3 separate regions of the Homo sapiens genome follow, and regions 2 and 3 are each linked to region 1. The links are contacts of gene promoters, found by promoter capture Hi-C in human tissues and cell types (Jung and others, 2019). All regions are on one chromosome and are shown on one strand. The core of a region is centred on a gene start or on the middle of the fragment in contact, and the rest is flanking DNA. Distances in the headings are between cores, read along the strand shown. Region 1 holds the start of SLC22A1 (solute carrier family 22 member 1). Region 2 has its middle 130 kb from the start of SLC22A3. Region 3 has its middle 150 kb from the start of LPA.

The links. The method cuts DNA at HindIII sites, captures the fragments that hold promoters and counts their contacts. A contact is called where the count stands out against the background at its distance.
Region 2: a contact is called between a fragment that was not itself captured here and the fragment with the promoter of SLC22A1 in region 1, in 1 of the 25 tissues and cell types used here (H1 embryonic stem cells).
Region 3: a contact is called between a fragment that was not itself captured here and the fragment with the promoter of SLC22A1 in region 1, in 1 of the 25 tissues and cell types used here (aorta).

Annotation. Positions count from the first base shown.
Region 1 is chr6:160,119,916-160,124,942 of GRCh38, reverse strand. SLC22A1 (solute carrier family 22 member 1) reads right to left here and starts at 3,128. Exons shown (of 11, transcript NM_003057.3): 1 at 2,597-3,128. The coding sequence starts at 3,007. It overlaps LOC124901452 (a long non-coding RNA gene), which reads left to right and starts at 3,248. Exons shown (of 2, transcript XR_007059842.1): 1 at 3,248-4,101. The HindIII fragment of the contact is 5,449 bases long and covers 1-4,870 here.
Region 2 is chr6:160,476,007-160,480,943 of GRCh38, reverse strand. It overlaps the pseudogene LPAL2. Among named protein-coding and RNA genes, the nearest start is that of SLC22A3, 130 kb to the right of the region's middle. The HindIII fragment of the contact is 4,217 bases long and covers 632-4,848 here.
Region 3 is chr6:160,512,304-160,517,190 of GRCh38, reverse strand. No RefSeq gene overlaps it. Among named protein-coding and RNA genes, the nearest start is that of LPA, 150 kb to the left of the region's middle. The HindIII fragment of the contact is 5,020 bases long and covers 1-3,945 here.

The DNA.
Region 1 (5,027 bases), core at 1,879-4,378:
GGGCTCTACATCTTGGGGTTATTGGAAGCCCCCTCCACAGCTGCCACGGACAGGCAAGCTGTTCTAAAGCACTCTCGGGCCCCTCTCTGTCCCAGCCTCCCCACTTCTGCTGCACCCCAAGGTCCCCTCTTACCAGGCCCCTCTACCTGCCCACATGGCTGCCTCTCCAAGGCTCCCAGTTCAGCGTTCAGAAGCTCCATTTGCCTATACCCCCCAAGCCAGAGCCCTCCGCCAAGCTGGGCCTCCTTCTCCCCAGCCCTGACAATGCTGGCATCTCTTACATCTTGTCTTCCCTTCATTCCCATGACAACCATGTTGGCCAACACTTCTTACCGGGGCTCACTCTTGGCCTCCTCATGCATCTCTCTACCTCTCCTGAAGCCTCCAATCCCACCACCGCCCCTTCCCACCCATTCACGAGTCCAGCTAGGGTCACCTTGCTTGCCTGCCTAAATAAGACCCAAACTCCTTTGTTGGGCACTAAGGTAGCGTTGCCAGGGTTCACAAATAAAAATACAGAATGCCCAGGTAAATTTGAATTTCAGATAAACAACTTTTTTTTTTTTAGGATAAGTATGTTCATGCAATATTTGCATTTCCAGTCTCAGTTATCAGTACCAAATATCATGCAGTATCTGGGAAGTAAGTATCCTATCCAGTTGGATTATCTGAAGTTCAAATGTTCGAGTTTAACTGGGCATCCTGTATTGTACCTGGCAACCCCACACTAAGCACTCCGTGTTCTGGCCCCAAGGTTAGACACCAGTGTTCTCCCCACAACTCCTCATATCATGACCCTCATATCAGTGCTCCTTGCACCCTGAATGCAGCAAACACTCCCTGGGCCCTGAGCCTAGGCTCAAGCTCTCCCCTTGGTCTGGGGATCTACTTCCCCTCCCCTCTACTCCACCTGTCCCCTCTCCTTGCTGGTCCAAATACCAGCTGAGGCTCAGCTCAAAGCCACCTCCTCCCAGAAGACGTCTATGATCAGCTCAGAGCTCAGCAGCTGAGATCTCTACCTTCTTAGAGCCCACCAGTCCCTTTCCGCCCTGCTCATGGCATTCACCACAGGCGGCCTTGGGCTGTCATTAAACGAACACTGGTCTCATTCTTGCCATCCTCTTCCCCTCTCAGTCCCCACAAGACTGCAGACTCCTTGAGGGACCTCACAATCTTCTTCTGCATCTCCCCTGCGGCATCACACCCAGTGCCAGAATAGAGGGAGTATGCCGAACATACTGGGTGGATGTCTGACTGGAGGAATGATCACATCTGATCTCCTCAAAGCAGAGTATGTCTCAGTCCCAGAGAGCAAACACATCCTCATCCTGGTCTGCTTCTAGATTCCCAGTGGGAATGTCAGATGGTTGGAGATCCCTGGAAGGTGGGCTGCCTAACTTGTCATCCATTGTTGGAGGATGCCTTGGAGACAAGATGTCTCTTCAGCATCGTAAAGCCAGTTGCACCGGCACCTGCTCTGCTCCAGGCAAGCAGGTAGAGCAATGCTCAGGCCCAGAGGGGAGGGACCCTAAGCTTTCCTCCAGTAATAGCCCTAAATGTGTCACCGCTGATACCACTCAGGAAAGGGAAAAGAGGAAGAACAGAGACCCAAGAAGTCCGGAGAGCTTGGGCGAGGGTAGTGGGGGCAGACAAGTGGGCAGGACCAGAGGCAGGGAGGGCCCAGTTACCTCTTATTTCAGGGAAGCAGTGCCTGCACCAAAACCACGCCACTGCTCGTTACTAACAGAAGGCCCCTGACGGGCTTTGGCCCACAGCTTCTCCAACCCACCAAGCATCCACACTTGTTACCGTGCAATAGTTTCAAAAGGGCTCATGATGGGAAAAAAATGTGGTGACACTTTTTACTAAAGGATTCTCAAAGCAAAATGCTCAAATAACCAAGTAAACTACTCAAGCAAGGCCCTTTTGAGGCCATCGCCCTATCCCATGGGCCCCATCGGACTGCACGGTGTGACTCAGTTTGGATTTGCTCAGTGCTTTCACAGATCCCAGCTGAAGCTCACACCCCTATGAGGCAGCCGTCATCATCCCTGGTTGACTGATGAGGAAATGAGGCTTAGAGAGGCAGTGACTTACCCAGTGATGCTCAGCTAATAAGGGGCACAGCTGGGATTCCACCAAATATTCTCACTTCCAAGCCAGGGCAATTCCAGGCCACCTCAACACCATCATTGAGGTCAATCGTCATCACTCTTGAGCAGAAGGAGGGGGCCCACAGTACTATTGGTGGGGAAGCGGGACCCAGAGCAAGTTGATAGTTCTGGGAGAAGCCAGTGGGGCAGGCAGAGAGGCTCCTGGTCTCCCAGTCAACTCCCATTCAAGCAACCTGGCAACCTGGCCCCCGACTTGTGCTAGCTGTTCTCTCCTGCCTCAGCTTCCTCCTCAAAGACCCAGAGTTTGTGGTGGATTAAACTAGAGAAGAGAATGCCCCGTGCCTGGGACACAGCCAGACACCCACGAACTGCACAATAAACATAGCCCCCTACCTCTTTCCTGATATGGAACTGAACTTCATAGGATTTGCTTTATATTTCTCCCTGTCCCAGGAACTCCCATGTTACAGAGGCTTTTTTACCTCAGTGACGATGGAAGAGCCGGGCGTGTCATACACCCAGCCATCCTGGCAGGGACCCAGCGGCAGGTGGCTCCTGTTGGTGGCCAGGCTAGCCAGGGGGTCTACACAGCTGAGGGCGCTCTGGTTCCAGTCCACTTCATAGCGCCTGCACTGGCCAAGGAAGGCCTCGCCCGCGGGCCCCAGGCCTGGCACTGTATAGTTCAGCTCCTCCGCAGGGCTCCAGCCACAGCGCTGGCTCAGCTCAGCCACCCCAGGACTCTGGCAGTGGTGGTCAGGTGTGAAACCCAGGAAGACGATGCCCACACAGATGGGCGCAAAGGCAGCCGACAGCAGGCATAAGATGAGGAAGGCTTGCTTCTGGAACCAGCCAGACTCCCCAACCTGCTCCAGAATGTCATCCACGGTGGGCATGATGGCTCAGCATGCTCATGGCCGTGGCCAGACCTGCTCTGGGCTGCAGTGGCCAGGTGCAATGTCTCCCTCAGAGATCTTTGAAAAGGAGTGGTTTGAAATCAGTTTGCTGTCCAAGTGTGAAACATCTGGAAGGCAACCAAGTAGAAATAATCTTTTACCCTATGGTGCTGGTTTCAGGAAAAGGAAGAATGCACGTGGCCATCTGATCAAATCGTTTGCTTTGCCCGGGAGCGAGTCAGTGGGGTCTAAGCCCGAAGAGAATTGAAGTTCAGCCACAGAGCAAGAAGAGGGCAGGAGAGCAGGCCGTGCAAACCTCCTAGTAGCTCCCTCAGGGCTCTTCCAAAAAGAATATCTACTTGTTTTCTAGATGTGATGGTATGAGGCAAGTATTGGGTGACAGCCAGGTACTAGATACTGTATTCGGCTAATTAGTTCTGTGATACCATTTAAGTATTTTTTTTAGTTTTTTTTTCCCATAGGTTTTGAGGGAACAGGTATTATTTGGTTACATGAGCAGGTTCTTTAGTGGTGATTTGTGAGATTTTGGTGCATCCATCTCCCAAGCAGTATACACTGCACCCAATTTGGGTGTTTTAAGCTCCACCTCTTCATTTGTGTGTGTGTATACATGTCTAGATGTGTTTACTTGTATGTACACTTACTGTTATATGTTGTGTCTACCAAATTGGCTTATAAGTAAAAGAGTGTTCATAAATTAAGTAAATAAGTCTAAGCAATTTTCAAATTCACTTAAGTATGACTTTGCTAAATAGGCTGTCTTTTAAATTATCAGTAAAATGAAAATAGAAATGTCTTCAAAATATAGACATGGTCTAAATTATGCAAGTCAGAAACTAGGTTGACTAAATGCTTTAAGGTCATAAACTGCTTTGGCTTTTGAAAATTGTTCAACTTTCCTGCTTTGCAGTTTGGTAGGGCCTGCCCTAGCTATGCTGGAAATAGTTAGACCTCATCTGCACCTAAGTACGTAACTAAAATAACTTACTGGGTATTTCACCAAAATTAACAATTACTAAGAGCTACCATTATAACATGTAGTGATGACTACTGAAAACAGATCTACACGTGAGGTGAGTAAGGAGAGTAAAATGTATCATTAGTAAAATAATATAAGAAGGCATGGGAATGTAAATTTTTGCCTAGTTCAGAGGGTTAAATGATTGTTTTAAATTATATAAGATAAAGCTTAAGGTTCAAACAAGTTATGGAAGGTTTGTAAAAAATTAATCTTGTAAAAGGAATCCTGTGTGTAAACATATTGACTACACTAAAAAGGATATTATTTGGTTTTCCATAAGTTGAACAATGGAATACAAGCACAACAAGGTTTTCTTGAAGCACTTACATGCTGTTTAACAAAAAAAATTTGTAAAAGGTTATAAAAGATTTATAACAATCTCAGTTCATGATCAAACTGATTAAGATTGGATGGATTTCTCTGTAAGGTTTTATTTTTTTTAATTGGGGTTGACATTAATAGACTAATGTAAGGGTAAAATTTGGCTTTCACTTGAACAAGATTTTCATGCAATGAAAGATTTTGTTTTCTTTGTGAATAAGCTACTGACACAAGAAGGGAAGGACAAGAGATCAACAGGACTCCAGGGTCAATAGGGCTCCATAGCTGAGGGGAAGGGAGCTCAGCAGCCTGACATGCTGGCGAAAGGGTAAAAGTTCTTACCAGTCAGACTTTTGGTTTCTCTCTCTGTGCAAACTGGTTGCAGGAACAATAAAAAAATCACTATATTCTCTGCCCCTCCATGAATTCAACTGGCCATTTGGCATGGCTAAAGTTGGATAATAAGAGACTTAAAAGGACTTCTTAAAAAGGAGTGCGATGGTTAAAAGTTAGATTGTTTGGAAAATTAGGTCTTCCCTCTTAGTGACTGAAGGTTTTTGCTTTGAGTCATTTAAATGAATGACTTATAGTAACCAAAAATTCTGTTAAGTGTTTTGAGCCTTTACAGCTTCAAAATTTTCTTTCCTAACCCCTGAG
Region 2 (4,937 bases), core at 1,491-3,990, 360 kb before region 1:
CTAACTGAAAGAAAATTTATAGAAACTACAGAAACAGCTACGCGTGCGCGCGCACATGCACACACACACACACAGACACTCACACATGCACAAGCTTACAAACACACACAAACACACTCACATCCACAAATCCTGAAAAGTGAAATCAACCAAGCCTCACAGACACAAAGGAAAATATAAAAAGGTTTCCTACCTGTGAGAAGCAAGGCACAGAAGGAGAGGAAGGTGATACTGAAACAATAACAAGTACCTGAAGCAAGAATGGCTGAAAACCTTCCTAATATGAAGAACGTTAAGTAATTACAGATTCAATAGGCTCAGTGGATCAGAAAGGGAATTTTCAAAAAGAAAACTGTATGAAGCACTTTGGTACATCACAGTTTGACTCTCAGAAGACAAAGATATAGTATCAAGAAATATCTTGTGAGAAACTGTAGGAAAAAGAGCTGTGTCTTGCTAGAGGAACGGTGATACAAATGGCTAATGTGTTCTCATCAGAAACATGGCAAACTGCAGGCAAAGGAATATCATTAAAATGATAAACAGGGAAAAGAAGAGATCAACCGAGAATGCTACATCCAGCTATACACTGCCTTGAAAATCATCAATGTTGTATAATTGCATTTTGTGCACCCCCCAAACAAGAAATCCGAAAGCTATGAGAATTTGGAATCAGCAGGCTTATGTCACAAAAGATGTGGCCCAAAGGGAATTACGTACAAGAAGAATAGTACAAGGTGGGAACTTTCTGCATCCCACGTATTGAAGAACCCAGCAAATGGCAAATGTAGATGTAAATGCAAAAATATTTTCTTGATCAAATTTCGTAATTGCCTTAAATTATATTTGACTGCTTGAAGCAAAATGACAGCAATATGTATTATTTTAGCATATTTGAAGTAAAAATTTGAAAATGTAGCATAAATCGTGTAGGGAATAAAGAATTATACCATTGTAAGTTTCTTGCCTTACCTATGATGGTACATAATAAAAGTTTGAAATATTTGGGTTCAAAGAGATATTGCAAATTCTAGAGTAATCACAAAATTGTGAACACTGAGGTATATTCTATGACAAGAATATTCCATATGTCAAAAAGAAGGCAGCCAAGGAAGAAAAATAAGTCAACTGCTCGGCTCTGAGCACATCCAAATGCTCAGAGAACAAGCTTCTTGAATGGAGGGTCTGTGCTTGAGACTAGGTCACATGTGTAGTCTCTTGAGAGAGAGTGTTGGATCCCCATGGCACATAATACATTTCCCGTTTTCACAGACAGCCACAGGTCATGAATGCGAGAATACTGAGAGGTTGGAGCAATGTTCCTGGGATTCATAAGGGGGAGCAAATGCTCCAAGATACACCCATCGCGGGTTACTCACCACCTTTGCCTCTTACTCCATTGTTTTCTGACTCCTCTGCGAATACATAGAGTAAGGGGGCTGGCCTGGGAATGGTGTCATGTTGGATGCCATTTCTTCCCTGAAGAAATATATTTTGATTCCAATTTACATGTTACTGTAGAGTCCTAAAGAAGGATATAAAGAAGTAGACAGATATCAATATATTATATATTTTTATGTGCATTAATAAAATCTAAGATGCACACTTAAAAAATCCACATCAGTTTTCTGGAGGAATGCAGTTGGCAGAAGGAGAAACATATTCTGATCTTTTTCCCTTTTTTTTTTTTTTTTGAGATGGAGTTTTGCTTGTGTTGCCCAGGCTGGAGTGCAATGGTGCGATCTCGGCTCACTGCAATCTCTGCCTCCTGGGCTCAAGGGATTCTCCTGCCTCAGCCTCCCAAGTAGCTGGAAATACAGGCACCCACCACCACTCCCAGCTTATTTTGTATTTTTACTAGAGACAGGGCTTCTCCGTATTGGTCAGGTTGGTCTCGAACTCCCGACCTCAGGTGATCTGCCTGCCTCAGCCTCCCAAAGTGCTGGGATTACAGGTGTGAGCCATCGCACCCAGCTCTAATTTTTTTCTTGTGTACGTTTATGCATGATCTCAGTTTTTAAATGGAGCATAGACTATTTTTGATTTTTTAAAATATACATTATAATCTATCTTGGAAATTTACACTCTTCTTTAGAACTTGAGGACCATTTTTGCCTTGGGAATATCATTTTACCTAAAATGGGAATATTCAAATGTCACTTTTTAACACTTTATTGTAACAAAATTTAGACAGTGCTGGGTGCCCCTGAATTTTTTACCATCTCTTGTAACCTGTATTGTTCTGGAATTTGCAGTGGCCTGACCAGGAACTACTGCAGGAATCCAGATTCTGGGAAACAACCCTGGTGTTACACAACTGATCCGTGTGTGAGGTGGGAGTACTGCAACCTGACACAATGCTCAGAAACAGAATCAGTGTCCTAGAGACTCCCACTGTTGTTCCAGTTCCAAGCATGGAGGCTCATTCTGAAGCAGGTAAGAAGTCTGTGGCCAGACATCTACACATTTGAACATTGGGATGAAAAGATTTAAAATCTGACAGATGCAGAAGCCTTCCATGCTACTGAGAAACTTGATGGTTGGTTGAGGTTATGCCGTGCATAAGGAAGCCTCAGCACCCTCTCTGCTCTAGCAAGAGGTGTAATTTTTGGTGCAATGCTAGTCAATGGTGTCTTTAGGAAGGGTGCAACCCTCCAGGGCGCTTGACTTACCACTCATCTTGTTAAGTGAGTTATCTTGGTGTCCTAGACAAAATTCCAGTTCTAACGTCCGGCCAAATTTGTGCCAATTTTCACACCAGTGAGTGTTTCCAGGCCTTTCGTAAAATGGGCAGTGTTCATTGCAATCATTGCATTGTGGTTGCTGAGGTATGTGGCCGCTGAGTTTGTCATCCTGGAGAAACCTAATATGATGACATTTATTCCATCTAATCCTGGGGCTATTTGACACTACATAACCACAGAATGCATTATTTCTCTGGCTTATCTTAGTCTTAGGTAGGCTCTGCACACCTATGCTTGGAAGGCAGGAATTTCTTGGTGTTCTTGCGCCTTCTTCTCGTGGAACGTGCATCTTTGGTGTGTGTTGAGAGGAAAGGTAGTAGACTTCTGCTTTGTTGCAATGCAGGGTGCTGGAACAAGAGGATTCCCTGTCTCTCCTGTAAGGGAATAAGATTTTAGTCTCCATCCTTCTCTAAGAAGCAATGTGTCTTTGCCTGCAAGTACTAGATGCAGGACCATGAACTGCCCCGTCCACCAGAAGCTTAAGGCTTTGGCTTTTCAGGAGCAATGGTCTAGGGAAATGTGCAAGGTTTTCCTGTCTGTCCCCCACTGACAGCCAATCACCCAACAGCCTGCATGGCCTAATCCATCACTGTCTGGTTTCCTGCCTTGTTGTTCTCATGAACAATCAGTAGAGAGCCACACAAAAGAGCTTGCACATGAGTCTTAGTTGCAATTGTAAGAACACTGATAGGTCCTTTCCCCACCAGATTTTGAATATAACATTTCTAAGAACTTATTAAAATATTAGAATGCTATTAATCTATTGTTTTTGCTTCAGCATGTCCTTCTGCTTGCGAGTATTCTGAAGAGAACAGTCATAATTCTGAAACTACTGTCCTGTTTGTGTCATAAATTGCTTCACATGTTTCTGCGTACTAGTAATTACTGAGCTTGATTTTGACTATTTTCAGCACCAACTGAGCAAACCCCTGTGGTCCGGCAGTGCTACCATGGTAATGGACAGAGTTATCAAGGCACATTCTCCACCACTGTCACAGGAAGGACATGTCAATCTTGGTCATCCATGACACCACACCGGCATCAGAGGACCCCAGAAAACTACCCAAATGAGTATGTCTTTGATGTTACTTGTAAGAGGAGCAACAGCCAACTTAAGTTCCTCCTAGAAGAGCCTTGCTTCAAGCTAACTTGTTAGGACAAATTTCCCTTAGACCCAGAAGGTGTGTCAAAATGTCCAAACAACTTTGCTTTTGATCAAAGAGTCTGAGAGAATAGGTATTTTAGGCTTGCTATCTTTTCTAATAGTCTGATGGAAGCAGAAGGCTACATGGAGCTGATGAGGTCTTTTTAATATAAAGCTCAGGAGAACAAACGATCAAATAGAGTGCCATTCTACAAGGCTCATAAAAGATCAATGCAGTCTTTCACCCATGCAATTCTATCATTCTAACCTCCCTTCCCTGAAGTGAAGGTTGGGTTTGCCATTTTTGTCATGGGTCACAAGTAAATAATTCACATGTGTGTGCATATATATAGAACCAGGTGTGTTCATACAGACTAGTATTCATATATATGTGCTCATATAGGTTGGTATTCATATATGTGTTCATACAGGCAAGTATTCATATATGGTCTAGGGAAATGTGCAAGGTTTTCATGTCTGTCCCTGACTGATGACCAATCACCCTATAGTCTGCACAGCTGCAGGCTATATAGCTATACAATCTGCAGGACACACACACACACACACACACACATAATATAACTATGTGTGTGTGTGTATATATATATATAGTTATATATAGTTATATATATACACCTGTGTGAACACACTGGGTTCTAAGCTCCAGTTTTCTGAAGGGATATGGGTTGCCAGGACAGGAAGAGCAAAAGCAAGAACGTAGATGAGAGTCAGTCAGGAAGTAAACAGATGTACAGATTAAAACGGGCCGGTACATGGACAAAAAACCTGGTCTGACAAAAACTGGCTTTCTGCCATAAAAGACTACAAAAGATATACAAAAAAACTTTCCACATGTTGGACAAGAGACAGTACAGGACTGAGATAATTTAGAAAAGGAAATGAATGAGCGCAACTCCATAACTATTATGACTTTCTTCCTGGAGAACCTTCCTGGACTGAAGGGCAAGGAATTGGAGCCAAAGCCAACCACAGCAGTCTTGCTGAACTGAGGAAAGAGACTGGAGTTTGGGATAGCTAAGAAAATGTGT
Region 3 (4,887 bases), core at 186-2,685, 390 kb before region 1:
GGATATTAGCCCTTTGTCAGATGGATAGATTGCAAAAATTTTCTCCCATTATGTAGGTTGCCTATTCACTCTGATGATAGTTTCTTTTGCTGTGCAGAAGCTCTTTAGCTTAATTAGATCCCATTTGTCAATTTTGGCTTTTGTTGCTATTGCTTTTGGTGTTTTAGTCATAAAGTCTTCTCCCATGCCTATGTCCTGAATCATATTGTCTAGGTTTTCTTCTAGGGTTTTTATGTTTTTATGTTTTATGTTTAAGTCGTTAATCCATCTTGAGTTAATTTTTGTATAAGGTGTAAGGAAGGGGTCCAGTTTCCGTTTTCTGCATATGGCTAACTAGTTTTCCCAACACCATTTATTAAATAGGGAATCCTTTCTCCATTGCTTGTTTTTGTCACGTTTGTCAAAGATCAGATGGTTGTAGATGTTTGGTGTTATTTCTGAGGGCTCTGTTCTGTTTCATTGGTGTATATATCTGTTTTGGTACCAGTACCATGCTGTTTTGGTTACTGTAGCCTTGTGGTATAGTTTGAAGTTGGGAAGCGTGATGCCTCCAGCTTTGTTTTTTTTTTGTTTTTGTTTTTGTTTTTTTTTTTTGCTTAGGCTTGTCTTGGCTATATGGGATCTTTTTGGTTCCATATGAAATTTAAAGTAGTTTTTTCTAATTATGTGAAGAAAGTCAATGGTAGCTTGATGGGGATAACATTGACTCTATAAATTACTTTGGGGAATATGGCCATTTTCATGATTCTTCCTGTCTATGAGCATGGAATTTTTTTCCATTTGTTTGTGTCCTCTCTTATTTCCTTGAGCAGTGGTTTGTAGTTCTCCTTGAAGAGGTCTTTAACATCCCTTTAAGTTGTATTCCTAGGTATTTTATTCTCTTTGTAGCAATTGTGAATGGGAATTCACTCATGATTTGGCTCTTTGTCTATTATTGGTGTATAGGAATGCTTGTGATTTTTGCACATTGATTTTGTATCCTGAGACTTTGCTGAAGTTTCTTATCAGCTTAAGGAGATTTTGGGCTGAGATGATGGGGTTTTCTAAATATACAATCATGTCATCTGCAAACAGAGACAATTTGACTTCATCTTTTTCCATCTGATACCCTTTATTTCTTTCTCTTGCCTGATTGCCCTGGCCAGAATTTCTAATACTATGTTGAATAGGAGTGGTGAGAGAAGGCATCCTTGTCTTGTGCTGGTTTTCAAAGGGAATGCTTCCAGCTTTTGCACATTCAGTATGATATTGGCTATGGGTTTGTCATAAATAGCTCTTATTATTTTGAGGTATGTTCCATCAATACCAAGATTATTGAGAGTTTTTAGCATGAAGGGCTATTTAATTTTATTGAAGGCCTTTTCTATATCTATTGAGATAATCATGTGGTTTTTGTCATTGGTTCTGTTTATGTGATGAATTACCCTTATTGATTTGTGTATGTTGAACCAGCCTTGCATCCCAGAGATGAAGCCGACTTGATCATGGTAGATAAGCTTTTTGATGTGCTACTGGATTAGGTTTGCCAGTATTTTATTGAGGATTTTTGCATAGATGTTCATCAGGGATATTGGCCTGAAATTTTCTTTATGTTGCGTCTCTGCCAGGTTTTGGTATCAGAATGATGCTGGCCTCATAAAATGAGTTAGGGAGGAGTCCCTCTTTTTCTATTGTTTGGAAGAATTTCAGGAGGAATGGTACCAGCTTCTCTTTGTACCTCTGATATAATTCGTCTCTGAATCCATCTGGTCCTGGACTTTTTTTGGTTACTATTAATTGCTGCCTCAATTTCAGAACTTGTTATTCAAGTTCAGGGAATTCAGCTTCTTCATGGTTTAGACTTGGGAGGGTGTATCTGTCTAGGAATTTATCTATTTCTTCTAGATTTTCTAGATTATTTGCATAGAGGTGTTGATAGTATTCCTTGATGGTAGTTTGTATTTCTGTGGGATCAGTGGTGATATCTCCTTTATCATTCTTTATTGTGTCTATCGGATTCTTTTCTCTTTTCTTCATTAGTTTGGCTACTGGTCTATCTATTTTGTTGATCTTTTCAAAAAAACAACTCCTGGATTCATTGATTTTTTGAAGGGTTTTTCCTGTCTCTATCTTCTTCAGTTCTGCTCTGATCTTAGTTATTTCTTATCTTCTGCTAGCTTTTGTATTTGTTTGCTCTTGCTTCTCTAGTTCTTTTAATTGTGATGTTAGGGTGTCGACTTTAGATCCTCTTTCTTTATCTTGTGGGCATTTAGTGCTATAAATTTCCCCCTAAACACTGCTTTAGCTGTGTCCCAGAGATTCTGGTATGTTGTGTCTTTGTTCTCATTGGTTTCAAAGAACTTATTTATTTCTCCCTTAATTGCAATATTTACGCAGTAGTCTTTCAGGAGCAGGTTGTTCAGTTTCTATGTAGTTGTGCTGTTTTGAGTGAATTTCTTAATCCTGAGTTCTAATTTGATTGCACTGTGGTCTGAGAGACTGTTATGATTTCCATTCTTTTGCATTTGCTGAGGAGTGTTTTACTTCCAATTATCTGGTCTATTTCAGAATAAGTGCAATGTGGTGCTGAGAAGAATATATATTCTGTTGATTTGGGGTGGAGAGTTCTGTAGATGTCTATTAGGTTGGCTTGGTCCAGAGCTGAGTTCAAGTCCTGAATATCCTTGTTAATTTTCTGTCTCATTGATCTGTCTAATATTGACAGTGGGGTATTAAAGTCTCCCACTATTTTTTGTGTGGGAGTCTAAGTCTCTTTGTAGGTCTCCATGAACTTGCTTTATGAACCTGGGAGCTACTGTATTGCATATATATTTAGGATAGTCAGCTCTTCTTGTTGCATTGATCCCTTTACCATCATGTAATGCCTTTCTTTGTCTCTTTTGATCTTTGTTCATTTAAAGTTTGTTTTATCAGAGACTAGGATTGCAACCCACCCACCCCCCTTTTTTTTTTCTTTTTTGCTTTCTATTTGCTTGGTAAATATTCCTCCATCCCTTTATTTTGAGCCTACATGCGTCTTTGCACATGAGATGGGTCTCCTGAATACAACACACAATGGGTCTTGACTCTTTATCCACTTTGACAGTCTGTGTCTTTTAATTGGGGCATTTGGAACTTCCCAGGGGCATTGTTTACACTGTGAAGGGAAAACCGCCTACTCAAGGCTTAGTAATAGTGGACACCCCTCCCCCAACCAAGCTGGAGCATCCCAGTTCAACCTCAGACTGCTGTGCTGGCAGCAAGAATTCCAAGCCAGTAGATCTTAGGGTGCTTGGCTCCATGGGGGTGGGATCCACTGAGCTGGACCCCTCGGCTCCCTGGCTTCAGTCCCCTTTCCAGGGGAGTGAACAGTTCTGTCTCACTGGCATCCCAGGCACCACTGGGGTATGGAAAAAAAGCTCCTGCAGCTAGCTCAGTGTCTACCCAAATGGCTATCCAGTTTTGTGCTTGAAACCCAGGGCCCTGGTGGCATAGGCACCCAAGGGAATCTCCTGGTCTGTGGGTTGTGAAGACCATGGGAAATGCATAGTATCTGTGCCAGAGTGCACCATTCCTCACGGCACAGACCCTCATGGATTCCCTTGGCTAGGGGAGGGAGTTCTCTGACCCCTTGCACTTCCCAGGTGAGGCGATGTCCCAGCCTGCTTCTGCTAACCCTCCATGAGGTGCACCCACTGTCTAACTAGTCACAGTGAGATAAGCCGGGTACCTCAGTTGGAAATGAAGAAATCATCTGCCTTCTGTGTTGATCTCGCTGGGAGCTGCAGAATGGAGCTGTTCCTATTCGGCCATTTTGCCAGCCACCCCACTTGCCTTTCGTCACCTGCCTGGCCCTCTTCCGAGTGTGCTTTTCTTCCTGTCATTCCTGCTCTAAAGCTTTTAAATAAACTGTCACTCCTGCTGTCCTTTTGCCTCCTGCCTCTTAAAATCTTTCGTCCAAGGAAGCAACAATTGAGGTTGCTGCAGACCCATATGGATTTGCTGCCAGTAACAATATGTGGCAGCTAAAAAAGCTTATATCAAAGAAGTAAAAAGTAATATGGAGGATGTTCCAGGTCTGGAAGAGTGGGGAAAGGGGGAATAGGGAGAGATTTGTTAAAGGCTACAAAATTACACCTAGGTATCAGAAATATGTTCTAGTGTTTTATGCCGCTGTAGGATGAGTCTAGCTAACAATATTATATTGTATAGTTTCAAGCAACTAGAAAGAGGATATTGAGTGTTTCCAAAACAAATGAGTGATAAATGTTTGAGGTGATTGATTGATATGCTAACTACCCCTCTTTGATCTCTGTACATCATTTGTATTGAAATATATCTGTGTACTCCATGAACATATGCAATTATTATTTATCAATAAAACTTAGTAAAATCTTGATTTCACAGAATTAGACAGTAGAATAGTGGTTACCAGAGGGTGAGCAGGGTAGTCAGGGAGAGGAGAATGAAAAGGGGTTGGTCAATGTGTACAAATTTCTAGTTAGATAGAAAGAATAAGTTCTGGTGTTCTATTATACACTAGGGTGACTATAGTTCATGATTATGTGTTGTGTATTTCAAGATAACTAGAAGAGAGAATTTTGAATCTTCTCACCACAAAGAAAAAATGTTTGAAGTGAGGAGTATGCTAATCACCCTGATTTGATCCTTATACAGTGTATCCATGCATTGAAACATCACACTGTACCCCATAAATACGTACAATTACTATGTGTCAATTATAAATTAAAACTTCAAAAGTGAGTACAATGCCAAGCATATAGCCATTAATCAATAAATTATAGCCATTACTATTATTATTATTCTTTCCTCCCAGTAGTAAATTGTAGTGCAGTGGTTGAAAGTAATCACTTGAGGCCAGGCATGGTGGCTCATGCCTATAATCCC